2 separate regions of the Homo sapiens genome follow, and region 2 is linked to region 1. Evidence: promoter capture Hi-C in 16 types of primary human blood cells and fetal thymus (Javierre and others, 2016). All regions are on one chromosome and are shown on one strand. Each heading gives the region's core, a stretch centred on a gene start or on the middle of the fragment in contact. The rest is flanking DNA. Distances are from core to core; before and after follow the strand shown. Region 1 holds the start of AHCY (adenosylhomocysteinase). Region 2 holds the start of TP53INP2 (tumor protein p53 inducible nuclear protein 2).

Evidence for each region. The method cuts DNA at HindIII sites, captures the fragments that hold promoters and counts their contacts. A CHiCAGO score of 5 or more calls a contact.
Region 2: a contact is called between the fragment with the promoter of TP53INP2 here and the fragment with the promoter of AHCY in region 1, in 15 of 17 cell types (naive CD8 T cells, activated CD4 T cells, total CD4 T cells and 12 more). The highest score is 17.0, in naive CD8 T cells.

The regions. Positions count from the first base shown.
Region 1 is chr20:34,299,757-34,306,175 of GRCh38, forward strand. It overlaps AHCY (adenosylhomocysteinase), which reads right to left and starts at 3,599. Exons shown (of 10, transcript NM_000687.4): 1 at 3,487-3,599. The coding sequence starts at 3,514. RefSeq lists a silencer at 2,974-3,203 and enhancers at 3,774-3,823, 3,844-3,963. The HindIII fragment of the contact is 32,031 bases long and covers 1-6,419 here.
Region 2 is chr20:34,701,995-34,708,413 of GRCh38, forward strand. TP53INP2 (tumor protein p53 inducible nuclear protein 2) reads left to right here and starts at 2,350. Exons shown (of 5, transcript NM_021202.3): 1 at 2,350-2,518; 2 at 3,364-3,480. LOC105372599 (a long non-coding RNA gene) reads right to left here and starts at 2,188. Exons shown (of 2, transcript XR_936690.3): 1 at 2,143-2,188; 2 at 1,665-1,819. RefSeq lists a silencer at 2,146-2,625. The HindIII fragment of the contact is 9,202 bases long and covers 1-6,419 here.

The DNA of each region.
Region 1 (6,419 bases), core at 2,349-4,848:
TTCAACCAGCTACTCTGCCCAAAAACTTAAGATTTGATTCCTCTTTTCCTCTTTCACCTCAATCAGCACGTTTTTGGCTCAACAAGTGAAATATATAAGCAATCCAACTGCATCTCACCACCTTCATCTAAACTGTCACTTCTCAGGCTGGGCGCGGTGGCTCACAGCCTGTAATCCCAGCACTTTGGGAGGCCAAGGTGGGCGGATCACCCGAGGTCAGAAGTTCGAGAGCAGCCTGGCCAACATGGTGAAATCCCATCTCTACTAAAAATACAAAAATTAGTTGGGCGTGGTGGTGGGCACTTATAATCCCACCTACTCAGGAGGCTGAGGCAGGAGAATTGCTTGAACCTGGGAGGCGGAGGTGGCAGTGAGCTAAAATAGCACCACTGCACTCCAACCTGGGTGAGAGGGAGACTCTGTCTCCAAAAAAAACAATAAAGAAATAAATACACTGCCACTTCTCAGTTGGACACTGCCACACTCTCTTCACTGGTCCCATGCTCTAACATGCCATTCTCCCCACAGCAGCCAGAAGAGGGAGGCTCTTAAAAATTTAAGTTACATCACCTCCATCATTCTACTAAAGTAAACAAAACTAAACAAGCAAACCCTCCAATGGCTTCCCTCAATCTTCGGGCCCTATCTGCATGACTGCCTGCCCCTCCTCCATCTCTCCACTTTCCCCACTCACTAGCTGTTCAACACACAGGCTTCCTGACTGACTTCAGGCAAGCTCCACTCATTTCCACCTCAGGGCTTTAACCCAAGCAGTTCTCGGCCTGGAAGGCTCCTCTCAAGCACCTAATACAGTACCTGGCACACAGTAGGTGCTGAAAAAAACCTGGAAACAGGAAAGAACCTAGTATATCCCTGCTAGAGGAACCAAGAGTGCACCAGGGTGACTCAAATAGAGGCATAAGATGAGTTGGGACTTCAGTCCCAGTGAAGTGGGGAACCTACAGTTTTCAGGGGCCAGCATTCAGAGACCAGATTTGTCTTTTGAAAAGACCCCATTGGCTGCTGTGTGGATCTGCGGAGCAAGAGATCCAGGGAGACCTGCAAGGAGAGAGACCAGACTGGGGTGGTGACCGTGGAGACAGACAAGTGGCAGATCTGCTCACATAAAATGGAGACAATACTACTTTATCTGTATGCATGTCTGTGCCACCCCTGTCTCTGGGTCACCTTTGTGTCTCCAGCATGACCTGGCTCAGAGAAGGGGTCAGCAACTGTTTACCGACCATATCTGTCCTCAGAACTGAATGAAAGATCCATGAGAGGGGCTGGCACGTGACAAGGGTGGCAAAGAAAAACAACACAAATCTGAACCTAGTCTGAGTCCCAGCATTTACTAATGACCCAGAGAGGACCCAGAGAGGAGTTTGCTGCAGGTTCCATAGCCAATTAACCGCAGAACCAGAACTGGCAGCCAGGCAGGGCTAGAGCAGAGGCCCCTCTCAAGGCCCCTCCTGGGAGGGGCCCGGCTGTATGGGACAATGGGTTATGCCCTGTGCTGCTAAGCTCCACCCCTCCACCACCACATGTCCCTCCAGCTAAAAATAACTCCTTCAGTGCCCTCGAGGACACTGTGCCAGCCCCACAGTTTTCCCTGGGACCCTCAACTCCAAAGGCACAGGAGAGGCTAGATGCTGCAATCTCTGGAGCTAAGGACTTGCAAAAGTCACAGGAACACCTGTCCCCAGGACAAGCCAAGAGGAACAGCAAGAGCCCCTGTAAACATCAGTTTCTTCATCTGTAAAGTGTGGATAATCATCCCTAGCTTGCTATGCGCCTTAAGTAAAGATAATGCCATATGATCAAGATCTGGCATACAGCAGGGCCTCCTTCCTCCAGCCCCACCCAGCTAAGCTCCCCATCCCCAAATCCAGCTTTATCTCCACCCACACAACCCAATGGCCCCAATCCTGACCCACTAATCTCTCCACAGTATGACAAGCCCCCATTCCAGCTCTACTATTGATGTGACCTTCACATAACCTTTCTGGGTTCAGTTTCAGCATCCACACAATGGAGACAGTCTACTCTGGTAGCAACTTGATGAACTACTTCAACAGAATCTTTGCAAGTCACCTCCCAAGGGCCTCAGTTTCATGCTCTATATAACGGGATTACGTCCACCTCTATGAAGATTATTGTGTAAACACACGTAAATCACCAGATATACAGCAAGTGTTTCCATAAATGTGGATGGCATTCTCCAGACTTAATAGTGTCTTTTTTTGTTTGTTTTTTTTTTTTGAGACAGGGTCTTGCTCTGTTGCCCAGGTTGGAGCGTGGTGGTGCAATCTCGGCTCACTGCAACCTCCGTCTCCCCGGCTCAAACAGTCCTCCTGCCTCAGCCTCCCGAGTAGCTGGGAATGAAGGCGCCCGCCACCACGCCCAGCTAGTTTTTGTATTTTTGGTAGAGATAGCGTTTCACCACGTTGGCCAGGCTGGTCTCGAACTCTTGACCTCAAGTGATTCGCCCACCTCGGCCTCTCAAAGTGCTGGGACTACAGGGGTGAGCCACCACACCCGGTCCAATAGTGTCAAAGTTACTTGAAAAGCTACCAGCCAAACTGAACTGGTTTTTGCTGAAAATTCACTAGGATTGTTCCGCGTGTATTCGCTTGCACACAGTGGTGAAAGGGTGCGCTCAGAGATCTAGATGGCCTGCGTTCCAATCTTGCTCCATCACCACCAGCTGTAAGACTGAGGGCAAGTTACCTCTGCCTCAGGATTCTCATCATAAAATGAGAACAGTTTCCCTATAGAGCCATGAGACTAGAATAAAGCTAGAAGGCAGTGCCGATCCCACAGGAAACACTAAGTAAACGTTAACTATCCCTGTATTACACTTCAATCGGTGGGACAGCAGGATTTTTCAAACCACTCCAAATTTTCTTCGAGATTTCTGCAAGGCTGCCCCTGCTGGAGGGGTGGGGGACCCCACAGGTTGGGTAACTGGCCCAAAGTCCCAGGGGAGAGGAGGATCGGAGCCGGCCTGGGGCTCGCTTTCCAGGCCTCTCCTCATACACCCTCCGGGGTGCCCTCGCCGTCCCTGTAGGAGGCCCAGAGAGGGGTGGACGCTCGTCGGGGCCGCCCAGCTGGACAGGGTCCGGTCCAGGCCTAGGAGGCCGGGCGCAGGCCCCCCGAGCAGGGTCCGGCAGGTGCCAGCCGTCCCAGGCCGTGGCCAGGTGTGCTCTCCCGCGGAGCACGCCGCCAGTTTGCGGCTCGCAGACCGCGCGGCGGCCCCGGCGTCGCGGGGCATGCTGGGACTTGTAGTCCACGGCCACCCGGAACGGCCCGCTCATGGCCGCGCGAGAACTCCAACTTCCAGCTGGCTTCGCGCGGCCAGAAACGCGCCGAGGCTGCGATTCCAGGGGGTCCAGAGAGCCCCGAGTCGGCCCTGCAGCCCCCGCCACGAACAAGCCCCGGGCGGGTGCCGGGCGGCCGCAACCGGCTGCAGGTCCTGGGACTCACCGACTTTGTAGGGCAGTTTGTCAGACATGCTGGCGGCACTCGTGATGGAAACGGGCGAAGGGGGCTGGGCCTCAGTCTGGGAACAGGAACTGGGCGGGCAGCGCCGAGCAGGGATATGCGCGTGGCGCCGACGCCTTTAAATATCTTCCTCGCACTTGCATATTCATGACCCGCTGGGGCGGGGCCCAACGCGCAGGGCGGAGCCGGAGGGGATTTCGATCCCTGAAAAGAAGCCTCAGAATTTCACAAGGCGTGGCCCCAGGAGTCTCACTCACCGGTCCGGAAGGGAGCGCCGGGAGAGGCCTGAGAGCCAGCCGGGCCGTCCTCTCGCTGGTTCAGCCAGTTGATTCAGTGTCAAAACCCAGCGGAACTGAAATTCCGCCAGTTCACTTCCCTGTGCCTCAATTTCCTCATCTGTAAAATGGGCCAAATGACATCTGCCACACAGATTATTATAAGTAAAGTTGCAGGCCAGGCGCGGTGGCTCACACCTGTAATCCCAGCACTTTGGGAGGCCAAGGCGGGAGGATCGCTTGAGCCCAGGAGTTCAAGACCATCCTGGGCAACACAGTGAGACCTGAACTCTACAAAAAAAAATTAAAAATTAGCCGGGCGTGGTGGCGCGCGCTTGTGGTCCCAGCTACTTGGGACGCGGAGGCGGGAGGGAGGATCTTTTGAGCCTGGAGATCGAGGCTGCAGTGAGCTATCATCCCACCACAGCACTTGAGCCTGGGCGAAAGGGCAAGACCCTATCTCAAAAAAACCAAAACAAAGTTAAGTTGCCATTTGTCAGGTACCTACTGACATCCCAAACATTCGCCTTACTCCAAGTAACCAACACCCTGAATTTAAGTAAGTTTGCATACATTTCTTATACTTTTACTGCATCCGTATATCATTAAATAGTTCTGTGTTTAGCACCTTTATATATCAACCGTATTTACCCTTCTGCAACTTGCTTTTTTCTGTGAGCATTATATTTATGAGACTCATGCATATAGCTTGAGTATATTCATTTTTGCTGCTGTATAATTCAGTCATCCCAGGCATGGGAAGGGGAAATTGGTTTCAGGACCTCTGTGGACTCCAAAACCCTTCTATGTTCAAGTCCCTCATATAAAATGAGGCAGTATTGGCATATAACCTATGCACATTCCTCCGTACACTTTAATCATCTCTAGATTACTTATAACTAATATAATGTAAATGCTATGCAAATGGTTGTTTTGTAATTTGTATTATTTTTATAGTTATGTTTTTTTAATTGCTTTTTTTCCCCTGAATTTTTTTTTTTTTTTATGGAGTCTCACTCTGTCGCCCACACTGGAGTGCAGTGGCACCATCTAGGCTCGCTGCAACCTCCACCTCCCGGGTTCAAGCAATTCTCCTGCCTCAGCCTCCCGAGTGGCTTGGATTACAGGCACGCACCACCACACCTGGCTAATTTTGTTTTTTCTTTTTTTGAGATAGAGTTTGGCGCTTGTTGCCCAGGCTGGAGTGCAATGGCATGATCTTGGCTCACACCAACCTCTGCCTCCCGGATTCAAGCGATTCTCTTGCCTCAGCCTCCCGAGTAGCTGGGATTACAGGCATGAGCCACCACGCCTGGCTAATTTTGTATTTTTAGTAGAGACGGGGTTTCTCCATATTGGTCAGGCTAATCTCGAACTCCCGACCTCAGGTGATCCGCCAGCCTCTGCCTCCCAAAGTGCTGGGATTACTGGCGTGAGCCACCGTGCCCGGCCTCTACTCATTTTTTAACCTAAAAATGAGAAAAGAATTAAACTCTTCTGGCCGGGCGCGTGGCTCACGCCTGTAATCCCAGCACATTGGGAGGCCGAGGCGGGCGGATCACGGGGTCAGGAAATCGAGACCATCCTGGCTAACAGGGTAAAACCCCATCTCTACTAAAAATACAAAAAAAAAAAAAAATTAGCTGGGCGTGGTGTCGGGAGCCTGTAGTCCCAGCTACTCGCAAGGCTGAGGCAGGAGAATGGCGTGAACCCGGGAGGCCGAGCTTGCAGTGAGCCGAGATCGCACCACTGCACTCCGGCCTGGGCGACGGAGGGAGACTCTTGTCTCAAAAAATAAAAAATAAAAATAAGAATTAAGGTCTTCTATGACATAGTAAATGTATTGGTCTCACTTGATCTGTACATCTGACCTCTGTCTGAGAGTCATGAGGGCCGATGTCAAGCAGAGACTTCCTGAGGGAACGAGGGTCCACGCCTGGGAGGTGGGCAGCAGGGTCCTCACGCATCCCTTTCAGCATTCTGCAGTGCATTGCAGTGTGTAGTGAGTCGTGTCAGTCTAACTAAACGTAGGATCATGTTACTAGGTTGTCCTACGAGAACAGAAAAATGGCTTCAAAATATTCCTGCAAAGAAATGGCAAGTTCCAGATACTGTGAAAATTACCAGCACAGCAAACAAGTAGAAAAGGACACAGCTGACAGGTCTCTTTCTGGTATGAATGCTGGTCTTTGTCAGCCATGTTGTAAGGAATGTAATAAAATTTGAGAAAACAATGAAAAAGACACTTTGAAATATGAATTTACGGACCAGGCGCAGTGACTCACACCTGTAATCCCAGCACTTTGGAAGCCGGGGCGAGTGGATCACTTGGGGTCAGGAGTTCCAGACCAGCCTGGCCAACATAGTGAAACCCTGTATCTACTAAAAATACAAAAATTAGCCGGGCGTGATGGTGCACGTCTGTAAACTCAGCTACTCAGGAGGCTGAGGGACAAGAATTGTTTGAACCCAGGAGGCGGATGTTGCATTGAGCCAAGATTGCGCCACCGCACTCCAGCCTGGGTGACAGAACAAGACTGCCTCAAAAAAAAAAAAAAAAAAAGAAAAAAAAAGAAATGTGAATTTACATGCCCTCTCATTAATTAATGATGACTCTCATCCTCACTGTATATCGTGCTT
Region 2 (6,419 bases), core at 1,100-3,599, 400 kb after region 1:
AGTAGAATCTTGAAGACAGGAAAGATCTGGATTTCAGAAAGTTCTGAAGAAGGCATTCCAGGCAGGGGAAACAGCTTGAGCAAAAGGGTGGAGGTGGGAGAGTGCTGTAGAGTCAACAAGGAGTTTGACTTTAGCACAAGATGCGTGTAGGAGAAGGGGAGGTGAAGCTGGAGAGAACTGGGGCCGGAGCATGGGGGGCATGAGTTCTGTGTTAGGAGTGTGGGGCTTTAGGAGCCACATCAGGTTTTAGAACAAACAAGTGGCTTGACAGGAGAGACGTGTTAGGGATTATTTAATTAAAGTCAGCAAGTAGGTCTGAAAGGGTATGAGGTTAGCAGGAAGTGGCTGTGATGGGCAGAGGCTCAGAGTTGCATGGAATGAGGACACTTTGGGTATAACACTCCAAGGGCCACAATGCCACTCCCCTCTCCACCCCTCAGCCTTGGGTTATTTTTTTCTGGCTTCTTCCCCTGTCGCTAGGGTTAAGGAGTCCCTTGGGGGTTTCAGATGAGGCTGGGATAGAGTTTTATCACTAGAGTGCCGGGCACGGTGGCTCACGCCTGTAATCCCAGCACTTTGGGAGGCCGAGGCAGGCAGATCACAAGGTCAGGAGACCGAGACCATCCTGGCTAACACTAAACATACAAAAATACAAAAAATACAAAAAATTAGCCGGGCGTGGTAGCGGGCGCCTGTAGTCCCAGCTACTCGGGAGGCTGAGGCAGGAGAATGGCGTGAACCCGGAAGGCGGAGCTTGCAGTGAGCCGAGATCGTGCCACTGCACTGCAGCCTGGGCAACAAGAGCGAGACTCCGTCTCAAAAAAAAAAAAAAAGTTTTATCACTAGATCATTAACCTCTGGCCTAGGTCACCTCCGGCCTCCTTTTGGGCTAGGTGGGCAGTTCTCGGACCCTCCCCCACCAGCCCTGCTCTGCTGACCTAGAACCTCTGGCCCTGGAGATTCTGATATGTGTATTTGTGGTCTCTTCTCGGGCATCTCCCAGGCCACTGGGAGAGCTGGGGCCTAGAGCGTGGGGTGGGTGGAATCCTGAGGGCAGAGAGTGTGGAAGAATCTTACAATGGCAGCTCTAGAGGGAAGCCTGGATATGTTTGTTTGACAAACTGAGACCCAGAGAGGTAACATGACTTGAGGTCACACAGCAAGTCTAGGGCACAGTCAGGACTGAAAGCCAGGACTCTGGGGAGGCTAAAGCGCCCTGAGGTTTAGACCATCTGGTTCATGTAGAGAATGGAGAGGGTCAGGGCTGGGAGCTATGGGTTCAAATCCTGGCTCTGCCATTGACTGTACTTTTGTGACCTAAGAAAGTCACTTGAGCTCTCTGAGTCTGTTTCCTCAACTGTTAAACGGGACAATATCTACCTTTTGGGTTGTTGTGAAGATAAAAAAACACACCCATAGCACAGGTCGTGGCACACAGTAAGTGTGCCAATACATGTCAGCTAGTGGTATGGTGGTGCAATAGTAGGTGCCTAATAAATGTTGAATGCATTGTTGAACATGAGTTCACACGCTAACAGTGAGATTGTGAGACTCAGCTTTCCCACGTGTAAATCAGGACTCATAATCAGTCCCTGTCCTGCCACTTCTTTACAGCCCCGGTAGCAACATAGATTAAATAAGGTATGTAAACGTTCAAGCGCGGAGCCGTCTCAGGTCAATGTTTACTCAGCCCAGGGCAATTCCTCTCCAAGTCCTACTCTGCGAAATTTCACGTCAGCTTCACTAACTTCTCTACATTCCCAGATGCTCCCCGGGAACCGGGGGTTGGGGATGTCCCTCTTTTCTCAAGCCCGCCGAGCTGAGGAAAAACGGGGTGGGAAAGCAGAGTGTGTAAGGCTGAGGAGGTGAGCCAGAGGGGGGAGGGAGAGCAGGAATAAGGGCAGTGGGGAGAATGCAGGTGCACGGACGTGGTGTGGGTCGAGAACAGGGTCCGCATCGGGGGACTTGGATATAGGATGCAGTGAAAGGATTTGGGGAGCAGTGGGAGAGGTGAGGGCGCTGCGATCCGGGAAGAATCAGGAAAATAAGGAGCCGGTAGGAGGGAGTGGAGATCCTCCTCGCGGAGAGCTCGCCGCGGCGCAGGGCTCCCAGCTCCCCGCAGCTGCCTCCCCGAACACTCACCCTCCCGGTTCCGAGAACGTTTCCCGGCCCGAGCGCCCGGCCCGCAAACCGGGAGGGGAGGGGAGGGGAGGGGCAGGGGGGGATCCGCAGCCCGGGATTGGCCGCCGCCCCGCCAGCCGGTGACGCGAGGCGGGCGGGCCCCTTTGTGACGTCACAATCAGCTGTTTGAACGTTCCAATTTGTGCCGTGAGCCCCGCCGCAGCGGCCGCACAGACTCAAAGCCCCGCGGGCGAGCTCAGCAGCCCGGAGCGACCGCGGCCCCGCCGCCTCCCCCGCGAGTCCCGGCGATGCGGCCCGGCCTGTGAGCGGCCGGCGACCCTGGGACGCCCCGCCGCACAACTACCTCAACGCCGTGCCGCCCCCCTCCCGCCCCCAGGTGAGTCCCGACCCGGGTGGGCCTGGGGGCTCCCCTGCCACGGACACGCCCTGCGCCCCCCGCGCCCGGGCCTTTGTCTGTCTCCGCCGGCGGCCGCCGGGGCCGCGTTCCCGGCTCCCGATTGGTTGCCGCACGCCCGGTAGACCATGACGTCGTTCTATTTGCATATGACATTGAGACGTCACCAAGGCCGGTACCGCCCCCACAGGCTCGGGTCGCTTGTCCTCCCGTGACCCGGTAGCCGCTGTGTCGGGGCTGGGCCCTGGGTGAGACGCTGCAATCCAAAGGGGGCTGCAGGGGGATCGGCGATTTCCTAGGCTTATCCAGGGGCTGGGGTCAGGCCTCTGATCCCCTACTTTCTCTTTGCAACCTGAGAAGGAGTCAGACGGCGCTGCTGGGCCTAGGTTGAGGGGGTCGTCAGGAGTTCAGGGCTGCATGGGACTCCAGGTGGTTGGGACAGCACCAGATGGTGGTGGGATCCCCTCCCTCCGGCTCCAGACTCCGCCCCCAGGGACTAACAGAATAACATCCTCCTAATCCCTGATTTGTGTGCAGCGCCTTAGCTGATGTCACTCCTAGACCCAAAATGAAGGGTCTTAGACCCCAGTGCATGGAAGGGGCAACAGGCCCAGAGAGGAGGATTAGCTCTCTCGAGGTCACATAACCAATTAGAGTCATGCTCACTGAGTGACAGATGGATTATTAGCCAGGGGCAAAGACATAATAGGGGCTCAGTACAAGTGGTAAGATACACATCCTCCTTCCACTGGGGACCCGATCTTGGGCTCAGCCTTATCACGGTTTGATAGGCTCCTAGGTGTCCTTACTCCTGGACCCTTTTCCAGGGAATCTCTGGAGATTGGTTCACCTTTTGTGGTCCTGACCCCTTCTGTCCTCACTGTACCTTGAAGTCCTAGAGTCCAATAAAATCGCTGCCTCCCAGCTGTTTGGATCACAGAGAGGTGAGTCATTGGCTGCCTCGGGGTGTCTCCAGGGCTGATGTTGGGGTGGAGGGTGGGGTGAGGGTTCCCTCTATTGGCCCTTTACCTTCCCAACTTCCTAGGTCGTCAGCTAGGAAGGGCCTGACCTGGCCTAGTGCAGACAATTGCAGGTGTTTTGCTGCTCCCTCGTCACCTCTGCCCACAGAGAGTATAGGAGAAGGGATAGGATAAGGAGAGTTTCTGACTTAACAAGTGGATGGGCCTAGAGGCTGAACCAGGAACTCCATTCCTGCTGGGAGTTTGCTCAAGGATGGGCTGGGGGTAGGGGTGGCTTAGGGCACAAATGCTATTCTGGGCAGAGCTGCTGTAGTTATTAAAGGGAATGGTTCTCCCTGGAGCAGAACTGGGAATGTGAGAACCAGGAAGCTGGCAGGGCTGGGAAAGGAAATCTGGGAGGCTCCCCAAGTGGTCAGGAGAGGGGGCAGGCACTGGCTGGCTGGTGACTGCTTTCACTCCTGGCTGTCACTGACTTGCTGTGTGACCTCAGGCAGGGAGCTTTTCCCCTGAGCCTCCCTCCCCTAAACCTATCTGAAATTTGGGGAGGCACAGTGCAGGCTCTGGTACACAGTGGGTCTTCAGTAAATGCATGCTAAATCTTGGTGCCAGTAACCCCAGACCCTTTTGTAGCTAGGCGAGGGGTGGTGTGGCTAGGTCAAGGTCTTTTTCACCTCCCTGTACCCCTGCATCATTGTATTCTTGGGGATTGTTTGCTGAGTCTTTCCTGACTGTGTACACTCTGGACTGGATGCACAGTAACGTGGGACTAGGTCTGCCCTGCCACTATCTAGCCATGTATTTTTGGATAGATTTATGTCTTCTTTCTGATCATCAGATTTTAAAATGGGCTGGGTGAATATGATGGTCCCTGAAACAGCTCTTAACTTCTCTTTCATATTCCATGAATTAGTAGGTTCTTGGAAGGAGGATGTGCCTCATCAAGGCCTCGATATTCCCTTCCTTCAAGAGGGGCCAAACTTTCTGGGCTTTTGGTAATGGAGTCACTAGCTCCCTGTGGCTACATATGGGTTGGGATACATGAATTGTGCTGGGTGGACACTAGTTGGGGGTGGCCCCACCTTCTTAATCCCTGTAGATCTCCCACCCCCATCCCACCAGAGAAGCCAGCATCTTAAGCCTACTGTGAGTCTGCAGATGTGGAAATATTCTCAGGGTATGGAAGTGAGGTGATTCTGCAGCAAGTGTGAAAACATTTCTAGGGAATGGGGGAGGTAGCAATAAGCATGGCAATACTGCAGGTGGATTAGCAGAAAGAGGAGAAATGCCTTCAGGGAAGTCTGGACATGCCCCCAGGAAGTTCTACAGGAAGTGTGGAAACACCCTTAGAGAATGGTGACAAGTGTCTCAGCAGCAAAACCGTTGAGCATCTTTAGGGAACAGGTGTGGAGAGTCAGTCAGGCTTCAGGTACTGGGGGAGTATGGCCAGCAGCCCCCAGCCAAGCTCTAGTCCTGAGGTAGGCTGGCATGGGGAGGGGGTAGATCTAGAGCTACCACCTTGGTGTTTCCATTTCTGCAGTAGGGGGCCTCCCTCTTCATCTTCACCCAGGGAAGGATTGGTTAAGGGCTTACCTCGGTCTGGGTCCAACCCTCAGTGCTCATCCTTAAGGGCTCCTGGGAACTGACAGCTCCCTCCCTTCATCATCACCTCCCACTGACCTGCTGTCTCACTGAGCCCAAGCAACCTGATCTTCCTCCTACCCCTGGATGCTGCCCTTGAACAGGAGCCTGGGAAAAGGGGGTCAGAGGGGGGAGGGCCTGCCGGCATGCCATCTTTACACTTCATATGACAGACACAACCGAGGTGTGCCAAATCACATGGTAAGATGGTAGCAGTTCTATGGGATTTCTGCTGGCCAGTGCTTTTCAAACCACACAGGCTCCAGGAGTGGTTCTTAATCTCTGGGGTCAAAGATTGCTGTTTAGGAAATCATGATGAAAACCAAGGTCCTTTTTCCCAGAAAAATACACATGGACCATGACCCCTGGCCACCAAATTGAAAATATCAAATTCAGACAGACACCCAGAAAAGGCAATAGAATATAGTGATTCTGGGTGCTGCCTCTGGAATCTGATTGTGTGGATTCAATCCCACCTTTGTCTCCTACTAGCTCTGAGACTTTGGGACAGTTAACTTCTCTGAGCCTCAATTTCTTAACTGTAAAGTAAGGACAGTAATTATCCACTTCCTGTAGTTGTTGTGAGGATTACATGAGGTAATATAGGTAAAGCTGCTTAGCATAGTGCCTGGAACATAAATGTTAGCTATATCATTATTATTATTTTGAGACCAAGTTTCGCTCTGTCACCCAGGCTGGAGTGCAGTGGCACCTCGCAGGTTCCAGTGATTCTCCTGCCTCAGCCTGGGATTACAGGCACCTGCCACCACGCCCAGCTAATTTTTGTATTATTAGTAGAGATGGGGTTCACCACGTTGGCCAGGCTGGTCTTGAACTCCTGGCCTCAAGTGATTCACCCACTTCTGCCTCCCAAAGTGCTGGGATTACAGGCGTGAGCCACTGTGCCCGGCCTAGCTATATTATAATGATAACAAGCAGACAATATGGGCAATTTCCTCCCTGCCTGGAGAACTCCTATTTACTCCTCAGAGTGCAGCTTGGATGTCCAATTCTCTGGAGACCTTCCCTGGCAGAGCTGTGTCATGTGTCACTCTATGTTCCTAAAGCACCCTGTAATAATAACTAATTTATTAGTTTGTTGAGTGCTTACCATATGCCCAGACAGTTCTAAGCACTTTATAAGTGTTTAGCTCATTTAATTCTTCCTCCTCCATCTTTTTTTCTCATTCAATAACTTTGGTATAGCTCATTTAATTCTTATTAGAGCCTGGAGGAGGATACTATTATTAGCTTATTTAATTCTT